Regions from separate parts of the Homo sapiens genome. Here all the other regions are linked to region 6. The links are contacts of gene promoters, found by promoter capture Hi-C in human tissues and cell types (Jung and others, 2019). All regions are on one chromosome and are shown on one strand. Each heading gives the region's core, a stretch centred on a gene start or on the middle of the fragment in contact. The rest is flanking DNA. Distances are from core to core; before and after follow the strand shown. Region 1 overlaps PLCB1 (phospholipase C beta 1). Region 2 overlaps PLCB1 (phospholipase C beta 1). Region 3 overlaps PLCB1 (phospholipase C beta 1). Region 4 overlaps TMX4 (thioredoxin related transmembrane protein 4). Region 5 overlaps PLCB1 (phospholipase C beta 1). Region 6 holds the start of PLCB1 (phospholipase C beta 1).

What was found. The method cuts DNA at HindIII sites, captures the fragments that hold promoters and counts their contacts. A contact is called where the count stands out against the background at its distance.
Region 1: a contact is called between a fragment that was not itself captured here and the fragment with the promoter of PLCB1 in region 6, in 4 of the 25 tissues and cell types used here (dorsolateral prefrontal cortex, liver, lymphoblastoid cells and 1 more).
Region 2: a fragment that was not itself captured here is called in contact with the fragment with the promoter of PLCB1 in region 6 in 10 of the 25 tissues and cell types used here (bladder, dorsolateral prefrontal cortex, heart right ventricle and 7 more).
Region 3: a fragment that was not itself captured here is called in contact with the fragment with the promoter of PLCB1 in region 6 in 4 of the 25 tissues and cell types used here (IMR-90 fibroblasts, bladder, mesendoderm cells and 1 more).
Region 4: a fragment that was not itself captured here is called in contact with the fragment with the promoter of PLCB1 in region 6 in 1 of the 25 tissues and cell types used here (mesenchymal stem cells).
Region 5: a contact is called between a fragment that was not itself captured here and the fragment with the promoter of PLCB1 in region 6, in 4 of the 25 tissues and cell types used here (bladder, heart left ventricle, hippocampus and 1 more).

The regions. Positions count from the first base shown.
Region 1 is chr20:8,352,972-8,355,980 of GRCh38, forward strand. All of the region lies in intron 2 of PLCB1 (phospholipase C beta 1), which reads left to right. Among named protein-coding and RNA genes, the nearest start is that of PLCB1-IT1, 110 kb to the left of the region's middle. The HindIII fragment of the contact is 6,417 bases long and covers 1-3,009 here.
Region 2 is chr20:8,323,711-8,327,062 of GRCh38, forward strand. All of the region lies in intron 2 of PLCB1 (phospholipase C beta 1), which reads left to right. Among named protein-coding and RNA genes, the nearest start is that of PLCB1-IT1, 77 kb to the left of the region's middle. The HindIII fragment of the contact is 5,117 bases long and covers 1-3,352 here.
Region 3 is chr20:8,262,107-8,265,600 of GRCh38, forward strand. All of the region lies in intron 2 of PLCB1 (phospholipase C beta 1), which reads left to right. Among named protein-coding and RNA genes, the nearest start is that of PLCB1-IT1, 15 kb to the left of the region's middle. The HindIII fragment of the contact is 5,647 bases long and covers 1-3,494 here.
Region 4 is chr20:7,989,297-7,992,663 of GRCh38, forward strand. All of the region lies in intron 5 of TMX4 (thioredoxin related transmembrane protein 4), which reads right to left. Among named protein-coding and RNA genes, the nearest start is that of TMX4, 29 kb to the right of the region's middle. The HindIII fragment of the contact is 6,623 bases long and covers 1-3,367 here.
Region 5 is chr20:8,285,203-8,288,343 of GRCh38, forward strand. All of the region lies in intron 2 of PLCB1 (phospholipase C beta 1), which reads left to right. Among named protein-coding and RNA genes, the nearest start is that of PLCB1-IT1, 38 kb to the left of the region's middle. The HindIII fragment of the contact is 5,881 bases long and covers 1-3,141 here.
Region 6 is chr20:8,130,303-8,133,543 of GRCh38, forward strand. It overlaps PLCB1 (phospholipase C beta 1), which reads left to right and starts at 1,964. Exons shown (of 32, transcript NM_015192.4): 1 at 1,964-2,448. The coding sequence starts at 2,350. RefSeq lists a silencer at 2,050-2,189. The HindIII fragment of the contact is 4,653 bases long and covers 1-3,241 here.

The sequences.
Region 1 (3,009 bases), core at 255-2,754, 220 kb after region 6:
TGTATTTCCAAACTGGGTTCTTGAAGAGGACCTACAAACAATAACACTTTGGTATCAATGAGCATAACCAGCCCCCTGAACTTGGTTTCTAGTGCCGTTCTTCAATAAAAGGAACTAGGGCTCTTGGAGAAATGGCTGATTCTAGAGCTGGGGAAGGGAATTTACAAGATTAGGCTGGAGCATCTAACAATGCCAGGAAGCAAGAAAGTTTCTCAAAGGAACATATGGAACCAACTAAAAGACTTCTCAATGGTCAAAGCTGGAACAATTTAAGCAACAAAATAAAGATGTGATATTAGATTGCAACTCAAAGTATAAAATAAGTATCCATAGGCCACATTATTATAAATCAGTCATTGAATGAATAAATAATTGGGAAGAATACACAATTCTCCCATATAGGATACCAAATAATTTATGTAGGAGCATAACTGCCTTCTCTTAAGTGTGGGATTCACATAGCAACTTCCTGCAAAAAAAGCACAATATGGAAAGAGGGGATAAAGAGTAATTGTGATGCAGAAACTGACAAACACTGCCTCAGTCAGCTGACCAAGGATAATCTCATCAGTATTAAGTCATGTTGATAGTAGGTACCTTTGACATGATGTGATGAAAATGGCATTTTACCTCTGTGGTCTCTCTCCCGAAACCCACAACTTCAGCCTAATCATGAGAAAAACATCCTGTACCCATATTAAGGGATATTCTAGAAAATACCTGACTAGTACTCCTCAAAACTGTTAAGGTCATCAAAAGCAAGGAATGCCAAAGAGACACCCTAAGATGACAGGTGGACTAAATGCAGTATGGTGTCGTGAATGGGCTCTTGGCACAGGAAAAGGACAGTAGGTCAAAACTAAGGAATATCAATGAAGTATGGGCCTTAGTTAATATTAAAGTATCAATATTGGTATATTAGTTGTATCAAATGTATCATACTAATGTAAGATATTAACCATAGGGAGAACTGCCTGTGACATACATGGAAATTCTCTGTACAAATTTTCTGTAAATCTAAAATTATTCTAGAATAGAAGGCTATTTAAAAAAAAAAAAAAGACCAAAGCTAAACATATAATCGTGGTGGCCTGGGGCTGGAAGTGAAGGTTAGAGAATGGAGAGTTATTGCTTAACATGTACAGAATTTCTATTTGAGAAGATGTAAAAGGTTCCTGAGATTTATGGTGGTGATGGTTACACAACAATGTGAATGTACCTAATGCCACTGAGTTGTATACTTAAAAATGATTAAAATTGTAATTTGTATCGTGTATTTTATCAAAGTAAAACAAGTATTTCAAGAAAAAAACTCAAAGACACAGAAAACTAGAGAAGAGAAACATCAGAAGGACTAAAAACAAAATCTAAAAGTGGACCAACAACAAAGCAATGGGATAGGAAGGAAAACTGCGTAAGATTCACAGGGCAAAACACTTCCATTACTAGAACACCAGGAAAGAAAACACCTGTTTAGAAATCACAGCAAATAAATTAGTACTCACGGTTTTCTCTTTACTTCGTAATTTTTAAATTGTACACACCCTCTTCCAAAAACCTTACAACACAAGGCAAGAAATACAAAACAAACTTTTTGTTTATTAGTAAATTAAATACTGTATTGAATGTGGAAAAACAGAACAAAAAGTGGAGGCTCTGATACACTTTGGCCCCGAATACTGGCCCTCTGAGCGGAGGAGAGTTGGGGAAATCAGATGTTATATTAATGGACTGGCATTTAGAAGCCAGGCATTGAACTCTGTTTATTTTATATATTATTTTAACCCTCACAACAGCATTATATGCTAGTACTATTATTTCTCACTACAGAGCTAACATTTGAGATCATGGTTTTCTGTCAATGACTTGAATTTAGTAACAGTGAAAATTCCATACACATAGGAATATAGCAGAATTTTTTCAGTAAGGCTGTAACGTTTAAGTGAACTTAGCTGATCCTACATATATTAGAGAACGCTTGCTATAAATTCATGGGATTCTGTCTACCAAGTCAGAGAAGTGGTTTAAATGTGTTGATGTATCTGGCGTATTAGAGTCTACAGTCATGAAATGGAACCCTAGTTGTACAACTCATTAGCTATGTGCTGTCAAATTACTTAACATGTAGAGATCTCAGTTTTACCATCTATTAAATGGGGATAAAACAGGTTCTTTGCTTATAACATTCTTTTTCCTTTTCTAATATCCCATGTGCTTGTGACTTTCTATGATCAGAGATAGTGGTATTTGTCTTAAAAAAAAAAAGAAAGAAAGAAAAGGTCATTTAAGCCCCATATTATTTGGAGATCATAGGTACAATAAAAAATAAATGCCAGAGTTTCAATAGCTTAACACATTAAAAAGTATTCCTCATTTACTTAGAAGCCTAGTGTGGGTGTTTTTGATATAAGGTGATTTTCTTCTACCTGGTGATTTAGGGACTTAGACTCTGTCCAATCTAACAGCTCCAGTATCTCCTAGGGTCTCTCTGTCCTCTTTAAAAAGGACACAGGAGAAAGAAAAAGACCTGAAATGACCCTCGTCTCTTCCATTAACCTTCCATTTGTGAGAACTATTCATATGACCCTCCTTAAATGCAAGCAAAGGGTGATGTGAAATGTGGCTGTATTCAGGCAGCAATTTCCCTGTAATTCTTTGAACTGTGTAAGGCAAAGTGCAAAGTTTGGTGGCGAATGAGCAACCTTTGCCTTAAGCTCTGTGCGAGCCCAGTATTGCTGAACTGTGCTAACCCACTCACCTGTATGGAGAGAAGAGTAGCACCATTATAGTAAGGACTCCTGCAGTAATCACCAAGTATAATGGGGGCACTTAACCCTCAGCTTTTTTGCACCTTAAATGGTTTAATAATAATTGCAACAAAAAGTATTTATAAAGCATTCGGGAATGCTTATAAGGGATTAAAGTAATATTAAAGAAATCACTAGAGTCTCAGCATTAAATGATTTTTAATGCAACAAAATCTCATCATACTGTATTTTTTCTTCTTAG
Region 2 (3,352 bases), core at 556-3,055, 190 kb after region 6:
ATCGATTTTACCTCTTGATGGAAGAATTGTCAAGGAATTTGCAGACTTTTTTTAACCATTACATTTAATGATTACCTTTCATCATCATAGGGCCTTATTGGTATTTGCAAGCCTAGTTCACTTAACCTAATACCATGCTTAGTCATTGCCAAAAAAAAAAAAAATCTGGCTAATTTAATGTATCAACAATTATAATATAGTGATGCTTTTACTAATTTTTATGCTCTATTCAACTATCCTTTAAAATATACTTATCTAGAGGGAAGAGTTAAGTGAGAAAACTGAAGATTTAGAAGTATGATGTTGATTTCTAAATCAAGAAAAACATATGTACTATTGCTTTTTCACTGAATTAAACTGATTTTTACAGAGTGACTGCTATAATCATAACACTGGGCTAGACTACTGTGATTAATACAGGTAAGTAAAGACGGTTTTAAAATTATGAACAGAACTTAGTCCTAGTTCACAGTCTCTAAACTGGTAGGGGTGTGTGTGTGTGTGTGTGTGTGTGTGTGTGTGTGTGTGTGAAACTACGTGACAAGGATTATTTACACACCATTATAGAAGTCACACTAATTAAATCTAATGAAAGACATGTATTCAGTTTTGATATTTTCCGTAAGAGTCAGGCAAAAGTTCCCAACAAACTTCTAAATCTATAATCAATCCAAAGGAAATTATAAACAATAGGCTTTGTATAGAGAGAGTAGGTGGATCATATTAGGCAATAATCACATAGTTGATTTCTTACTATAAATTATGATTTATGTATCATAAATAGCATACAAATGTTTGTTAAATGAATGAGATCTTACAAACTATTACTGGGAAAATCTTTAATTGGCAGCTCTTCTCTGATACGGGGACTCCAAGGGTCCTTGGAACCTGGGGACTGGGGACTTCCTGATTATTTTCAAGTAGAAGTGTTTGATTTATAGTTGAAAGAGAATAAGACCATTAATGTTCTCTCATTTTTTTTAAATAAAAGTGTAAGCTCTGCCAAGGGGCATTTTCTCATTGGCTTTCAGTGTTATTTTGGTCTCATGAATTCATAAACATCAGCATCTCTACCTATTTCCAAAGAAAAAAAATTTACTTATGCTCAAATCCTTGTCACAGCCACTGCTTCTAGGGAAACATAAACTAAGGCAGGGTGATTGCAGTTCTGGGTATTTGAAAGAGGTTCTTATGGATTTTTCCATGTGGGAATAACGTCTAAGTAATTTTCCAAGAATGAAAATACTAAAGTTTTTGATAATTAAAGATACTGACACAGTACAGACACAAACAGGTTTTTCGGGTGCTTTTCTTGTGAAGCTTTGCATTTAAACTGAAGTTTTATTCATGTAATAATCATGCCCCTACTATTCGCAGGAGTAGGAATAATGGGAGTTAACAGGTGAGGCAGAAAAGAAAGGACATTTCAGAGATGCTCTGCAATAAAGAAGTGACTGAAAACTATAGCACTGGTTTTTCTTGGTTGGATGAATTAATGCACATTCTGAAAAACAGTGTTTTAGATTTCAAGTTCCAGGTCTTCCAGAAGGAGCTATCATCTGAGCTAAGATTGATGCATTCTAGACCATTATTCTGGACTCTTCTCTGATAAGCCCATGAGATAATTTTGTTGAGGTGTGATCATCCCAGCGTTTTAGTTATGTTTCACTGGAAAATTTAAAATATTTTAATAAGCAACATTTGTTTGGGAGAGATACACTGTCCCTGAACTTGGCCTACTATGATGGGAATCCTCTGTTCTGTTCAAAGGCAGTTTTCTCAGGCACCTATGGAGTCAGAGACTGATGTGACACTTAAGTGGTACTTACTATGTTCCAGGTACTGAGCTGAGAAATTTATCATGTATTAATTCATTTAATCCTCACAGCCAGCCATTTAATCATTTCATCTATTTTAAAGACAAGGGTCAGGAAGGTTAAGTGACACGTGTAAGGCCACACACATATGATTTGCTGGAACTTGGATTCAAACCTGTCTGTCCTTAGAGTCCATGCTTTTGTGAGACTCCACCTCTGGCTGTTCCTGAGGAGTTCCTAGTTAAGCGGGAATGGGGGTGGGCAAGCCAGTGATGACAGGGTTAGGTGGATACTGGAATATTCAGGAAGTGCCAGAAAGTACAGAGGATGAAAGGCTTGACTTCACCTTGGATATTTAAAAGCTCCAGAGGACAACACCTTCATTTGAATTGGAAAGGACATAGCCCATTGGAAAACTTGTTGTTTCCAGGGAACAAAACATTTTAGACTATTTTGAAAATCTGTATGAAGCTACAAGTACTTGTATTTGGTTTTATAATCTAGGTAACAGTAATTAAAAGTTGATTCTTTTAAAAGAGATTTACCCTTCGAGGTTGTTTAAGTAAATATTTTGCTCTCTGTTAAGTGTTCCTACTTGGAAGTGTAAATATCTGCAAATGTGTTTATGTGAGTCCTCTAACTTCAGAAAGAGTCCTAACCTATTTTCTTCAAGCTCTTCATACTAAATATTAATTCTCTGGGAAATTATATAGTGATATATTGACCTCTACAGAATAGATTCTTCATATAAATTAAACTATGTGGTTTAATTTTCTGTTGTTACTCATTTCTTTAGCTTGTGAGTGTTCACCCATGTCCTGAGTGTAAGATTGTGGGGCTGGAAGGTTTGCATTCCAGCCCAGCGCTTACAGCACAGCACAAGCTGAAGGCCAAAGAATAGGCGATTTTCAGTTGTTTTTAAGCTTTCTAGGAATGATAGGTTATGATTTCCCTTGGCCTGTGATTTACCTAGTTTCATAAAAAGTATATTTTCCTTTTTTATGACTGACAAAATTGTTCCTAGTGTAAGTTACCTGCTTTTTCCGAAAAGTTTGTTGGTGACTTAGTTTAACTATTAACCCATGAAGTCTCTGAAGCAACAAATGCCTATTATTAATCATGTATTTTGTCTGGGAAACCCCCAATGTCTTTTACTTTTTTAAAAGAAATATGTATAAGTCAATGCCAGATTGCATCCTCACTTTAATTTTACTTCTATGACCCTCCAGAATTTTCTCAAAAGTAGACCTGCTTATTGGGTCTGAAACACCACACTGAAACAGATGCTGATACTTGCTAGAATGTTGACAGGGCTGCTTTCACAGCGTCCAAATAAAACTGACTTAAACTAGATGGAGGTTTTTTGTTTTTTGTTTGAGACAGGGTCTTGCTCTGTCGCTCAGGCTGGAGTGCTGTGGCACAATCATGATTCACTGTAGCCCCAACTTCCTGGGCTCAAGCAATTATCCCACCTCAGCCTCCTGAGTAGCTGGGACTACAGGCGTGCGCCACCATGCTTGGCTAAGTTTTGTATT
Region 3 (3,494 bases), core at 447-2,946, 130 kb after region 6:
CTTGCCAGGCTGGAGTGCAGTGGCATGATCTCAGCTAACTCACTGCAACCTCCACCTCCTGAGTTTAAGGATTTGCCTGTTTCTCCTGCCTCAGACTCACAAATATCTGGGACAACAGGCACATGCCACCACGCCAGGCTACTTTTTTTTTTTATTGTATTTTCAGTAGAGACGGGGTTTCACCATGTTGGTCAGGCTGGTCTCGAACTCCTGACCTCAGGTGATCCACCTGCCTTGGCCTCCCAAAGTGCTAGGATTACAGGTGTAAGCCATTGCACCCGGCCTTTCTTCCCTTCTTAACACAAGGAAATACCCAAATATTAGAGGGATGCAGCAGTGGGGAATGTATAATCCATGGTGTCTTTGTTTCGTGAGAACCCCAATGAAGAAAGAGAAACAGGGAGACATAGTTTAGAGCATGCCGCTCAGCAGAATTTAGAATTGCCTTCAGTCACTGGAAGAGTCTAGGTGTACCTGGCTATTTGAAATATATGAATACCCAGCTTCATTATCTGAATGTTTTATGCTCCCCAAAATTTGAGCTCTCTTTTCGTACAGGCTGCTATAACAAAATATCATAGACGGAGTGGCTTAAACAACAGACAGTTATTTCTCACCATTCCAGAGGCTGGGAAGTCTAAGATGAAAGTGCCAACAGATTTGGTTCCTGGTGAGGACCTGCTTTCTGACTTGCAGCTGCCTTCTTGCTGTGTGTTCAACTGACCTTCCTTTTGTTTGTGTATGAGGGAGAAAGAGAATGAGAGAGAGAGAGAAAGATTCGTCTTCCTCTTTTTACAAGGGCTCTAACTCCATCATGAGGGTCCCCCTCTGATGACCTAATCTAAACCTAATTACCTCACAAAGGCCCCACCTCTAAATATAATCACATTGGGGATTAAGGGCTTCAACAAATGAATTTGGGGGAACACATAAACATTCCTAATGCAGGACAGGCAACATTTCAGCTCTGCCACTGACTGCCCAAATAATCCTGGACAACTTACTTAACCTCTCTAAGCCTCAGTTTTGTCATCTGTTAGATGGGAATGAATGAGTTAATATCTATAGTACCAAAAAAAAATTGTGTCTGGCACAGAGTAAGTGTTCAGTAACTGGTAACTGTTGATTATTAGCCTGGGTTAAACTCTGGAGTAGTTAAGAAATGAGGCAATTTCTCATTACTAGAAGAAAAATCAAAATGACTGTATTAAAAAGGAGATGCTGAGCATATCATCAATAAAAGTTTTAATTGGTTCAATATTATTTCAGATTGTGACATTAAACATCACTTTCAAATGCTGAGGTTATTTCCTCAAATATGACATCAGTTGACTCAATCCCATTAGGAGAAATTTGAACGCCTTCACTATGTAACATAAAAATTGCTAATTCTTTCCTTATTATATATTATAATCATGTGTCACTTAATGCTGGGGATTCATTCTGATATTGTGTGAACATCAGGGACTGAACTTATGCAAACCTAGATGGTAGAGACTACTACATACCTAAAATATATGGCATAGCTTATTGCTCCTAGGTACAAACTTGTACAGCATATTACTGTGCTGAATACTGTAAGCAATTGTAACATAATGGTAAGTATTCATGTATCTAAATGTATGTAAACATAGAAAAGGTACATTGAAAATACGATATAAAAGATAAAAGAACAATGGACCTGTATAAAACACTTACCATGAATGGAGCTCCTAGGCCTGGAAGTTGCTCTGGGTGAGTTGTTGAGTGACTGGTGAGTGAATGTGAAGGCCTAGGACATTAATGTACACTACTAGAGAATTTATAAACACTGTATACTTAGGCTAAAATAAATTTATTTTAATAAACTTTTCCCCTCAATAATAAATTATCCACCTTAGCTACTTTAACTTTTTTACTTTATAAACTTTTAAATTATTTAAACTTTTGACTCTTGTAAGAACACTCAGCTTGAAACACAAACACATTGTACAACTGTACAAAAATATTTTATTTCTTTACAGACTTATTCTATAAGTTTCTTCAATTTTTAAATATTTAGTTTTTACTTTTTAAACTTGTTTGTTAAAAACTAAGATGCAAACACACACATTAACCTACTCAGACAGAGTCAGCATCATCAATATCACTATCTTCCACTTCCACATCTTGTCCCACTGGAAGGTCTGCAGGGGCGATAATATGCATGGAACTGTCACCTCATATGATAGCAATGCCTTCTTCTGAAATTGCCACTGAAGGACCCACCTGAGACTGTTTTACAGTTAATTTTTTTCTTTAATTATTAGGAAGAGTATACTCTAAAATAATAATGAAATGTATAGTATAGTATAGTAAACACATAAACCAGTAACATAGTTGTTTATTATCATTATCAAGTATTATGTACTATACATAATTTTATGTACTAGAGTTTTATACAACTAGCAGCAATATAGTTTTGCTTGTACCAGCAATACCATAAACGCATGAGTGATGTGTTGCTCTGCAACGTTATGGCAGCCATGACATCACTAGGTTATAGGAATTTTTTCAGCTCTGTTATAATCTTATGGGACCACTATCATATAGGCAGTCTCTCATGGACTGAAATGTCATTATGGGGCACATGACTGTGTGTGTGTATGTAGGTACACACACATATGTTCATCTCTTATGCCTGATTTTGATTCTTTATTAATGTGGTGTAAGTCAATATTTATTGGCAGCAAAGGATATTTTCACCTTAGCAAATGACAGATATGAAGTTTCATTCTAAAGAATTTTGGTGCTTTCCTCCTACTGCCCTGGGGAAATGTAGCAATCCATGTAATCTGCCAACATGTATGGTTGGAGATGCATTTTAGGGGGTCAGGGAGATAATTAATGAGGAAACCTTGAGAGTCCTATCCCTATTTCTAGCTCTTACCTCAAAAGGAAATTACTCGTAAGTCCAGGAAATGGCTACGCTGAAAATACTTGTCATTTGTCTGACACTGTACAGAATTCTATGTTTAAGATCATCAGTTTTAGTGGCAGGTATTCTTGGACTTAATCCTACCTCTACCAATTACACCAGTCATTAGCTGCATAATTTTGAACAATCTCAATCTTCTCCTCCATAAAATGGGAACAGCAGTGTCTATTCCTTAGAGCAGTTGTGAGGATTAAATGAGTGAATGCATATAAAAAAACACTTGGTCCTGAATCTGACACATGAAAGCACTGGGATAGTTGTTACCATTTGAATTGTCTAATTCAGGGCCTTTTCATTCCACAAGCGAATGGCGAAGTACCATTTAAGACTTGCCAATGGGTGGGGGAGGCATTTACTATCCAAATAATTATATCACTGATCATGTCTAACTGAACACATTTTTGGCTAGAAGGGAACTTGGATAAAATATAAAAACAGAGCTTTCACAGGCATTTTTGTTATTTCATTTATGCTTTGAAAAAAATATTTTGGGGCACCTACTATTATGGGTAGCTAACTGCATCTCAAATTTATATCT
Region 4 (3,367 bases), core at 741-3,240, 140 kb before region 6:
CTTTATAAGTATCTGCTGATTTATCTTACTCATATGGTTAGGAAAAATAATGTGCAGTTTTAAGTCCTTCTATACAGTATCTCATGCCCTTTCTGCAAAATAAATGATTAATGCAACTCTCAAGAAACTTTCTAAATTATTTTTAAATTTCATTAAATCATTTGCTTTTGAAGCATTGCATTCTGACTCAAACACTTAGTACTTTCAAAACATCCTCTTATTTTAATAAGCTGCACTTCAATTTTCTTGTATCAATTTCCTCTTTAACGGAATTTGAGTTTCTTGGAGAAACTCTGCCATCTTCTGGTCTTTTAGGTCATTATTAGTAACTATTCATTAATCAGGTTGTACTTTCACAACTACAGATATAAATATTTATCTGTCTACTTTGTCTGAGTCTACAACAGCTTTAAAGCCCCTTATGAGTGTTAGGATTAGTGGTACCATGTCCTTGAAGTTTTGCTTTATATATGTTTCCAAAGGAATAGCTTATTAAATAAAATCCAATTCAGTTTTAGATCATTGTGTTTCTGTTTCTTTAACTACCAGGCAAAGTGACAGTTTTCACTTGTGGAAAATACTGATCCTTATTCAATATTATATGTGCTTACCACAAGGAAATATCCCATGCTGTTCGCTGAAAATGCACAAAAATGTAAACTGATGGGCATGATACCTTATACTATGGTACTAGATGAATAAGAAAGTATCTTACTCGGGCTGGGCGCGGTGGCTCACACCTGTAATCCCAGCACTTTGGAAGGCCGAGGCGGGTGAATCACGAGGTCAGGAGTTCGAGACCAGCCTGGCCAATATGGTGAAACCCTGTCTCTAACAAAAATACAAAAATTAGTGGGGCTTGGTGGCAGGCGCCTGTAGTCCCAGCTATTTGGGAGACTGGGGCAGGAGAATTGCTTGAACACGGTAGGCGGAGGTTGCAGTGAGCTGAGATCGCCCCACTGCACTCCAGCCTGGGTGACACAGTGAGACTCTGCCTCAAAAAAAAAAAAAATCTTAGTCTGTTCACTGAAAATGCACTAAAATGTCATCTGATGGGTGTGACACCTTATACTATCATAGTACATGATTAAGTTAGAGCTAACTTTTGGCTACATACATATTTGAGTGAGAAGATGAAATTAAAACATCATTACAACAGAATAAATGAGAAGAGCATTCTAATCAGTGGTCAGACAGACTTAAGGAAGACAGCCAAGCCAAGGCCTCCATGCATCTGAGGTAGAGCCTTCCCTCCCCAGAAAGGCAAGCACTCCCTCTGGAAGTCTAAACTACTGCAGGTTGGATTAAATACTACTTAGTCACACCCACTCATCCAGCCCAGTGTTGCAGAGTCTCATTCAAACCTAGACTGGCCCTGAAGGACAGAGAGCCTTTGGATTTAGAGTTCACCTGTGTCATAGGATATACTCTCTGAGGAGTTCTGGAACAAGCCCTTTATCTCTTTCAGACACAGATCAGAATCCCCAAAATATCTTCCCTGCAAGGAAACAGCTAGAAAAGACTCTTCAATGATGGCCAAGGGTTCACCTCTTTCATGCTTTAGCTCTTAGCACTTGTAACAAAACATAACCTTGCAGCCTCTTGTAGGATCTATGAAAGGTACCTTACAGATGTGCACCACTGTCTCACTATAACATTCTACAAAACATTCTAAACATTTTTATACGAAAAAAACATTGAGAAGAGGCATGCTATGTAAATCACAGAAGAATGTTTTCAAGTTTTAAAATACACTTTGTTCTTCTCTAGTCTAAATGTTCATGGCTTTTAATTCTCATCATCAGATATTTTAAATAAAGCCTTAAGTTTTCTGTCACGTCATTCTAATAAAAAGGGAAGGTAGCATCCATCACACAGATTGTCCTCCCAAGGATGTAGCACATCTTATTTTAGCTAAAATCTGCCATATGCCTACATCCTCTCAAAACGACAGTAACATTTAGGAAAGGGAAGTTACATCCTATATTATCAGTGAGCAGCAGAGATTCAACAAATCCAATAAAAAATGCTTTAAATACATTTAAATGCTAAACTTAGTTCGCAAAAGCATATACAGGTTGAGTATCCCTTATTCCAAATGCTTGGGACCAGACAGCCTTCAGATTTCTGATTTTTTCAGATTTTTGCATTACACTTACCAGGTGAACATCACAAATCCAAAAATCGGAAATTCAAAATGCTCCAGTGAGCACTTCCTTTAAGTGTCACGTTGGTGCTCAAACAGTTTCAGATTATGGAGCATTTTGGATTTTGGATTTTTGGATTTGGGGATGCTCAACCTATATGCTGAGCAACTGCCACGGAACCCTATTTTAAGCCTGCTATCAGCATTGGCTAAAAAAATTAACAAAAGTTAAAGTATTCCACGTTGGCTATAAAGAGAAGGAAAAAGTAAAATAATGAAGACAATAATGATTAATACATATAACTAACAAAAAGCAATTATCAAGCACATTAACTAGGTACCAGATTCTGCACTAGGCACTCAAAGGGTTCTAGGAACAAGTCTATGGCTGGAAAAAAAAAAAATAGGATTCAGGGGCCTACACATAAGGTGTGAAACAATGATGTGTTTCTGGAAGAGAAGGATAGTGCCACTCTGTAGCACTGTAGCCAACTGTGAAAAGAGGGAAGACAGAAGACTGGACAGTCTCTCTCCACACATGTGCCACACACAAAACCCAAGAACTTCTAATCCTAACTATGCCACCAGACTTGGCAGTGATGCTTCCTGAAGTTCAATCTTCTGCACATTGCTTTTATGATATTCACCTCACCTTGTACTATCCATTAGAGTATTAACATTTTTCATTTAGTCACTAAGTTGCATACAATTTTAAAGAAATTGGATATTGCTACTATAATATAAAATCAAAATCAATTTTGTCCTTTGAAGATGTCAACTCTCTGAGAAACTCCTCTAACTGTCCCATCTCCTAGGCCTCAGTGACTCCATCTGTGAGATGGGTAAAATGTTGAGACTATTTGTGAGGATAGATATTAACAGCTAATGAGGTAATTACTTCTGTGAGTTTATATAAAAATTAAAATATGCAGGTGAGCGCCATCATGAGTGAATTGGAAAGAAAATTTAAATTTAGTGATGGAAAGAACACTGGAGATCATCTACTCTTGTCCATATTGTGGTATGAATGACATATCGAGGATCCCTGGGATTCAGGGTAACAGCAGGAAGCTGACAGGAACTGCCTCATAAGACTATTCAAGGGACTTTCTCACCTCAACAGTTTACTCAAGCAAGAACATAGGGGAGGTTGGTATGAAGTTAAGAAGGCCAAATGCAAACCAAACCAACTCCTGAGTTGATAGGAATTCGGCCATGTGA
Region 5 (3,141 bases), core at 74-2,573, 150 kb after region 6:
AAATGTATGCTCCTTCTCTTCGTTTTGCTTTTATATATATATATTTCTATACATATAAATATAAAATATTTCTAAATATATATATTTATATCTATATACATATACATCACAGTATCTTCAGGGCTCAATCTTTTGAAATGTTTTTATTCCTTTTCATATTTATTCAGAATTGAACATAGAGACTATGAAGTAGGCCAGATATTTGACCATAAACATGAAATAATGGTGGCTAGATTCTAGTATATTTTCACATCCAATTTTTAATTTTTATTTTTTAAGAACCCTATCTCATCTCTTAACCTGGAAGACTGGATATTACAGTCATAGGTTCATGTGGCTGGTTCATTGATCCAGACACTTGAAGGACATGGCCATTTTCTGTGTTTAACTTTCTGTTTGGACTGGTCTCTGTATCAGGTACATAGTGTGACCATGGATACATGACCCTCCTTGAGCAGCTACCCACGGCATTATTGAAATGAAGCTCCAGGTCAGGAAGATGAGCCATAGTTTACTTGGGTAGCTGCTTCATAAGATAGAGCAACCTACTCCTATGGCCTTCACACCTGTACCCACCAGTGCGGGGTTTGTAGGATACTGTGAGCATTGTCATGTAATCATGCTGTGTTTATTTCTCAAGTGAGAGGCTTCCAAGATAGTTCCTGGTGTTTCCCTTCAAACAATTTCTCTTCTCACTAATATTTAGCTAAATATTTATGTTTCTCAAATATTGATGGTATTTTTTCAGGGCTGGATACATTAGTCCTTTCATATAGTAGTCCATTGGTCATTTTATAAGGAATCCAAGAAGCATAGCATAAGAGAAAAGGATAAATTTTCATCCTGGCACAGTGGCTCATGCCTGTGATCCCAGCACTTTGGGAGGCCAAGGCAGGCAGATCACCTGAGGTCAGGAGTTCGAGACCAGCCTGGCCAGCATGGCTAAACCCCGTCTCTACAAAAATACAAAGATTTGCCGGGCGTGGTAGCATATGCCTGTAGTCCCAGCTACTCAGGAGGCTGAGGTAGGAGAATCGCTTGAACCCTGAAGGCAGAGGTTGCAGTGAGCCAAGATGGTGCCACTGCACTCCAGTCTGGGTGACAGAGTGTAACTCCATATCAAAAGAAAAAGAAAAGGTACATTTTCTCAGCACCAAGTTTACGTGAATGCCATTAACTTAGCCTGTTTACTGCCCTGATTCCTGATTTCTCATATTATGTAATGATATTTCCATGTTATTCAATATACTGACAAAAATTATTTTATATTACTATTTCATCATAGAAGCAATATATACATACTCCCAGAAGTATTTGAACCAGAAGATAATGGACTGTTGGCCAGTAGAGCAGATCTGGGCACGGGACCCACAGCATCCAGTACATTAATCCTTTACAGTTCCTTCCATGTGAATTGTCTGAGTGTGCTCTTTGTCCATTCCTCCTTTTGTTAATTAATTTTTAACAATTCAACAGTTATTGTCTACTATATGTTAGAGCTCTTGAATCTTTCTAAGCGCTGTCCTTCAATGAAACACAGGGATTTATTTGCCAGTTCCTTATATTAAAGAGAGGATCTCCTTATAGTAGCTGCTATATAATAGTCTCTTGTCTGCTTTATTTTTAATATAATACTTTCTCAGTTTCCTGTTCTCCTTGTAAGTAAGTATCATGGTTTTGGCCTGGACAGGGTGAAAATTCTCATACTGTAGAAATTATCAGTGGACTTTTGTCTATACTTCTTCCATTTGCTTTGTATATAGTAAGACCAGCCAAGGATATAAATTCTCATATCCAAATTTTTCATCTAATATTTTAATATTTAACTTTTTAATCCAACAGGATTTTATGTTGAATTTTTTGTGATAAGAGAGATTTAAAGGAATGTACTTTCCTCAGAAAACAAGACAAATTCTACAGTGGTGTCTATTAAATATTTCCTACCTATTCATGTGTGACTCTTTACTCTATATCCCAAAACAATCTCACCTCAGTATAAGTAAACTTAGTCCATATTTATGTTTATGTATAAATATATTTAATATTTAATAGTGTGTTATATATGATGTTGTAGTAGCCTGTGATATAATATATACATGTACATTGATTTTTTATATATTTAGCACAGTGTTTCTGGGATCACGAATATTTAATAATATAAAATTTGTGATTAGAATAAAGAAGAGGATAAGATGTCACCAGCTTATTGATGGTAACTGCCACCCCCAATACCTCATCTTGTCCCCAGGAGGCTTGCTAAGGCATGTGGAGGAGGAATGGAGAGCCAGATGGTGCCTGTGGCTCCATGTAGATGATTCCTACAGGGCTGGAAAGCAATTACTCAGTACCAGTCCCCTGGGAGGCTGCCGACAAGGCAGGCATGTTCCCCGCATTCATCTTTACAAGGTGTAATAATTAAGCCAGCAGAATCATAGCATTGCCTGATGGATGTACAAAGAATCAGCATGGACCCTCTTGGCTTGTTCATTACCTCAACGTCACCTACACAAACTAGTAATTACTCACGGAATTTATGGCATTTACATGTGACAATGATCTTTGCTGCATTAACGCCTCCTAAAGCTAAGGTCCATGGGGCCAGTTAAAAACCTATTTATTACCAATGAAGCTTAAGCATTGAGGATTTGGGTAGATTTTACTGACATTACACTTAGAGAAAGATTTTAGATGTCTTCATCAAGAAGAAGACAAAGATGTGTGTTGGACGCAGCCATTTTGAATATATTTGGCAGCAGCTTATTAAATGCCCTAGAGTTAGCCTGTTTAACTCTGCTTTAAACAAGCACTTGACATGTGCTAAACCAAAGAACTTCTCTATCTGAGGTGTAACTGTCTATTATATTTCTTCCACTGACTTAGGCTAGTTGCAGAGGACCCTCCAATCGGTACATTGGAAATTCTTGGCTGAACTTGAAGGCTGTGTTTTAGGTCTGCCCTTCTCTATCTTGCGTTTCTATCCAGATGCCAATATGAACTAAAATAGAGCTTCTTGTTAGTCAGCTTCTTGTCCTTGAGGGGCCTGGAGGCTACAAAAAAATGAGAAGTAGCCATTCATCTTGATATCTGGAACTCTTGCCCTGGGAGGCTGTCAAAGAAAGAAAATTCTGGAAAGAAGAGGAG
Region 6 (3,241 bases), core at 714-3,213:
GGACTGTGGACCATTCAGGTTTTAGTTTAGGGACATGTGATCAAAATGAAACCAGTCAGTTTTTCATGAAATTCTTTGTAGCAATTGGCTTCCAAGCACAAGGCAAGACCCTCAAATGACAGCAAGAGTCATGGGTCTTGTTCACCAGGTTATCCATGGTGATTACAATAGTGGCTAGTATACAGCTGGCTACCAATAAGTATATTTTAAATGCATTGAAATATTTAATAGCAAATTTCTGTATTGGATTTTGGTAATCTTTTGACTGAGTTCATAAGCATTGGGCCTTGGAGTCCTGAGGGCAGAGAACAGGGAGAATGAAGGATTAAGAGAATGTAGTGTTTCTCTCCATTTTTCTCTCTTCGTATTCTTTCTTCTTTTTAAAAATCAACCTTTTTGAGATATAATTTATTTAAAACAAACTGCACTCAATTTAGGCGTACTTACAGAACTTACAAGTTTTGATAAACACACACACGATATAGAACATTTCCGACATGCTCATCAGGTGCTCGTAGCCCTTCCCTGTCCATCTCTACCTATCCCTGGCCACAGGCAAGCTTTCTGTCAACATAGAATATCTTGCCTATTCTGCAATTCCTACACATGGAATCAGGCAGCATACAGTCTATCGTGTCCGGCTTCTTTTACAAAGCTTAAAGTCGCGATTCATCCCTGATCTTGCATGCCCACTCATTTTTATTGTGGAATAGTATTCCAATATTTGGGCATACCACAGTTTGTTTATCCATTCACCTGTTGATTGACATTTGCAGGCTACTAAGAAGAAAGTTCTTCACATCACTTTACAAGTCCCTGCAGACTTGAACGTTTTCATTTCTTTTGGACAAATACTTAGGAGTGGAATTTCTAGGTTGTATGATAAGTAAATATCTTACTTTATAAGAAACTATTCTCCAAAGTGGTTTTACTATTTTATATTCCCTCCAGCAATGAACAAGAGTTCCAAGCTATTTCTCTCTCCGCCCCCCCACCTCCCGCGTGTGTCTCTCTCTCTCTCTCTTTCTCTCTCTCACACTCACTCACTCTCTCTCTCCCTCTCCTCTCTCTCCTTAATAAAAAAAAAAAAAGAGTTCCAGTTGCTCCACATCCTTTCAAGCATTTGGTATTACCAGTCTTTAAAATTTTATCCATTCTGGTCCTCCTCTTTCCCTTCTTCCCTCCCTCCCTCCCTTTCTTTCTTGAATTGAGAAATGTTTGTGGAAGGAGTGAAGACAAACATTCCTGGACCTATGTTCCTAAATGAGCAAGTTTCTATTAATAAGACTCTCCCCCACCCGCCACACATCCTACACACTCAAGGAGAGGAGCGGGAGAGGGCACCCTCTTTCTTCCTCGGAAAATAAAACCTTTGCTTTCTTTAGGATGGGCTTTCTGTCTCGAAAGCACAACGTAACCGTTTGCCCGGGTTTCAAGATCAGCGCGCTGCAAACTCTCAGGCGCGGCCAGGTTTCCTCAAAGAGCCTCTCAACTGCGCTCTTCTCTGCTGATAAATGATAATTCTCTTCAAAAAGCTGGTTTGTGGCTGGCGCTGGAGAGCTCCAGCTAGAGCCAAAAGCCAGGGGTTGCCTCTTTGGTTCCTCCCGATGGGCCCCTTTTCCCAGCCAGTTGGGATCCAAAGACGCTCCGGAGCTCGAGCCCAAATTCCCAAGAAAACCCCAAAGAGCGTAAGGCTCCTGGGGACCCCTAGCACCTCTGCAACCAGGGCACGGGGCATGCTCAGAGCGAATGCGGGAGGCAGGCGTTGGCTGCAATGGGGCTCGGGAGCCAGGAGGTGCCGCTGCGTCCCCGCTTCCTGGCGCCTGACCCAGCGTGCAAAGTTGGGCTGGGAGCCGCGGGGGGAAGGAAGGACCCAGCGAGCGAGGGTGGCGGGGAAGGGGGGCGGGGGGGAGGAGGAGGGAGGAGGGAAAAGAGCGGTTAGGGGGGGCGCCGGGCGTGTGTCACTCGCTCTCTCCCTCTGTGTATAGAGGATGTGCTGAATGGTGCGCTTTGAGGCGGCGGCGGCGGAGGAGCAGAATCCGCCGCGACTGGCAGCCTCGGCTGACCGGCTCGGCTTCTCTTCGCCTTCCGAGGCTCCTCATCCACCGCGGGCTCCAGACCTCGCGTCCCGCCCGGGGCATGGCCGGGCGCTGCGCCCCCGCGCGCTCTGCCTGCTGAGCGGCGCCGGAGGGAGGTGCGGAGGCCGGGAGGCCGGGGAGGCCGGCGGGGAGCAGAGTCGAGCGCCTCCGGAGCAGAGAAAGGAGCCCGCGCCCCGCGCCCCGCGCCCCGCGCACGGTCCCCAGTCCCTGCCGCGCTCGCCCGGGCCGCCCGGAGCCCAGATGAGCCCAGATGGCCGGGGCTCAACCCGGAGTGCACGCCTTGCAACTCAAGCCCGTGTGCGTGTCCGACAGCCTCAAGAAGGGCACCAAATTCGTCAAGTGGGATGATGTAAGTATTGGGGCGGCCCGAGTCGGGGCGCTGGCTCGGGCACCGGGCAGGGCGGGCGTCGTGGGGGTGGGGCAAGGGGCGCGTTATGCAATGGGCGCACTGGGAGCGGGCAGGGGCAGCCTCGGGCGCACAGGTTGGCATCTGCCAAAGCGGATGTCCAAGGGCAGAAGCTTTGCGCGCGCTCCTGTTTCATCGGGCTTCAGTAGTTGCCATCCTTTCTGGGTCTGGCAGGCGCCCCCTGAGGGTCTTACATCTTTTGGGCCAGTGGAGAGGGAGGGGCAAGCTTTGCCTGGTGACAGGTCCTGAGAGTTCGGAAAGTAGGGAGTGTGAAGTTGGGACCAACTGGAAAGCGCCTGGTGTGAACAAATCGCGTCCCTCTCCGCCTGCGGACGCACCCCCTATTACCTCTTTTGCCCGATTTCAAGAAGGAAGGACCTGAAGTTCAAAACACTTTAGTGATTGCGAACCCTCTTGGCGCTTTTGTGGGAGCCAAGGCGGCGGAGGACACAACGGTCCAGCCAACAGGTGGTCGTTGATGCCAAACTTCAGCGCCTGGCTCCGGAGTGAGGGTCCCTGAAAAGGGCTGCGGGGACACATCTGGGGAGGGCGTGAACAGAATGGGGGCCCTTGAGGGGTCCTGGAGGGCTCATGGGCCTGCAGGCAAGTGGGGAGGGCTGACTTTTGAGAACTGAGCTGATTGGAGTCTTCTGCCTGAAATAGACAGGTTGAGAGTTTGCCCCACGATTTACCTGCACCGTTTGCCAGGTAGGGCAGAGCCTAGCCCAGCGCCGGG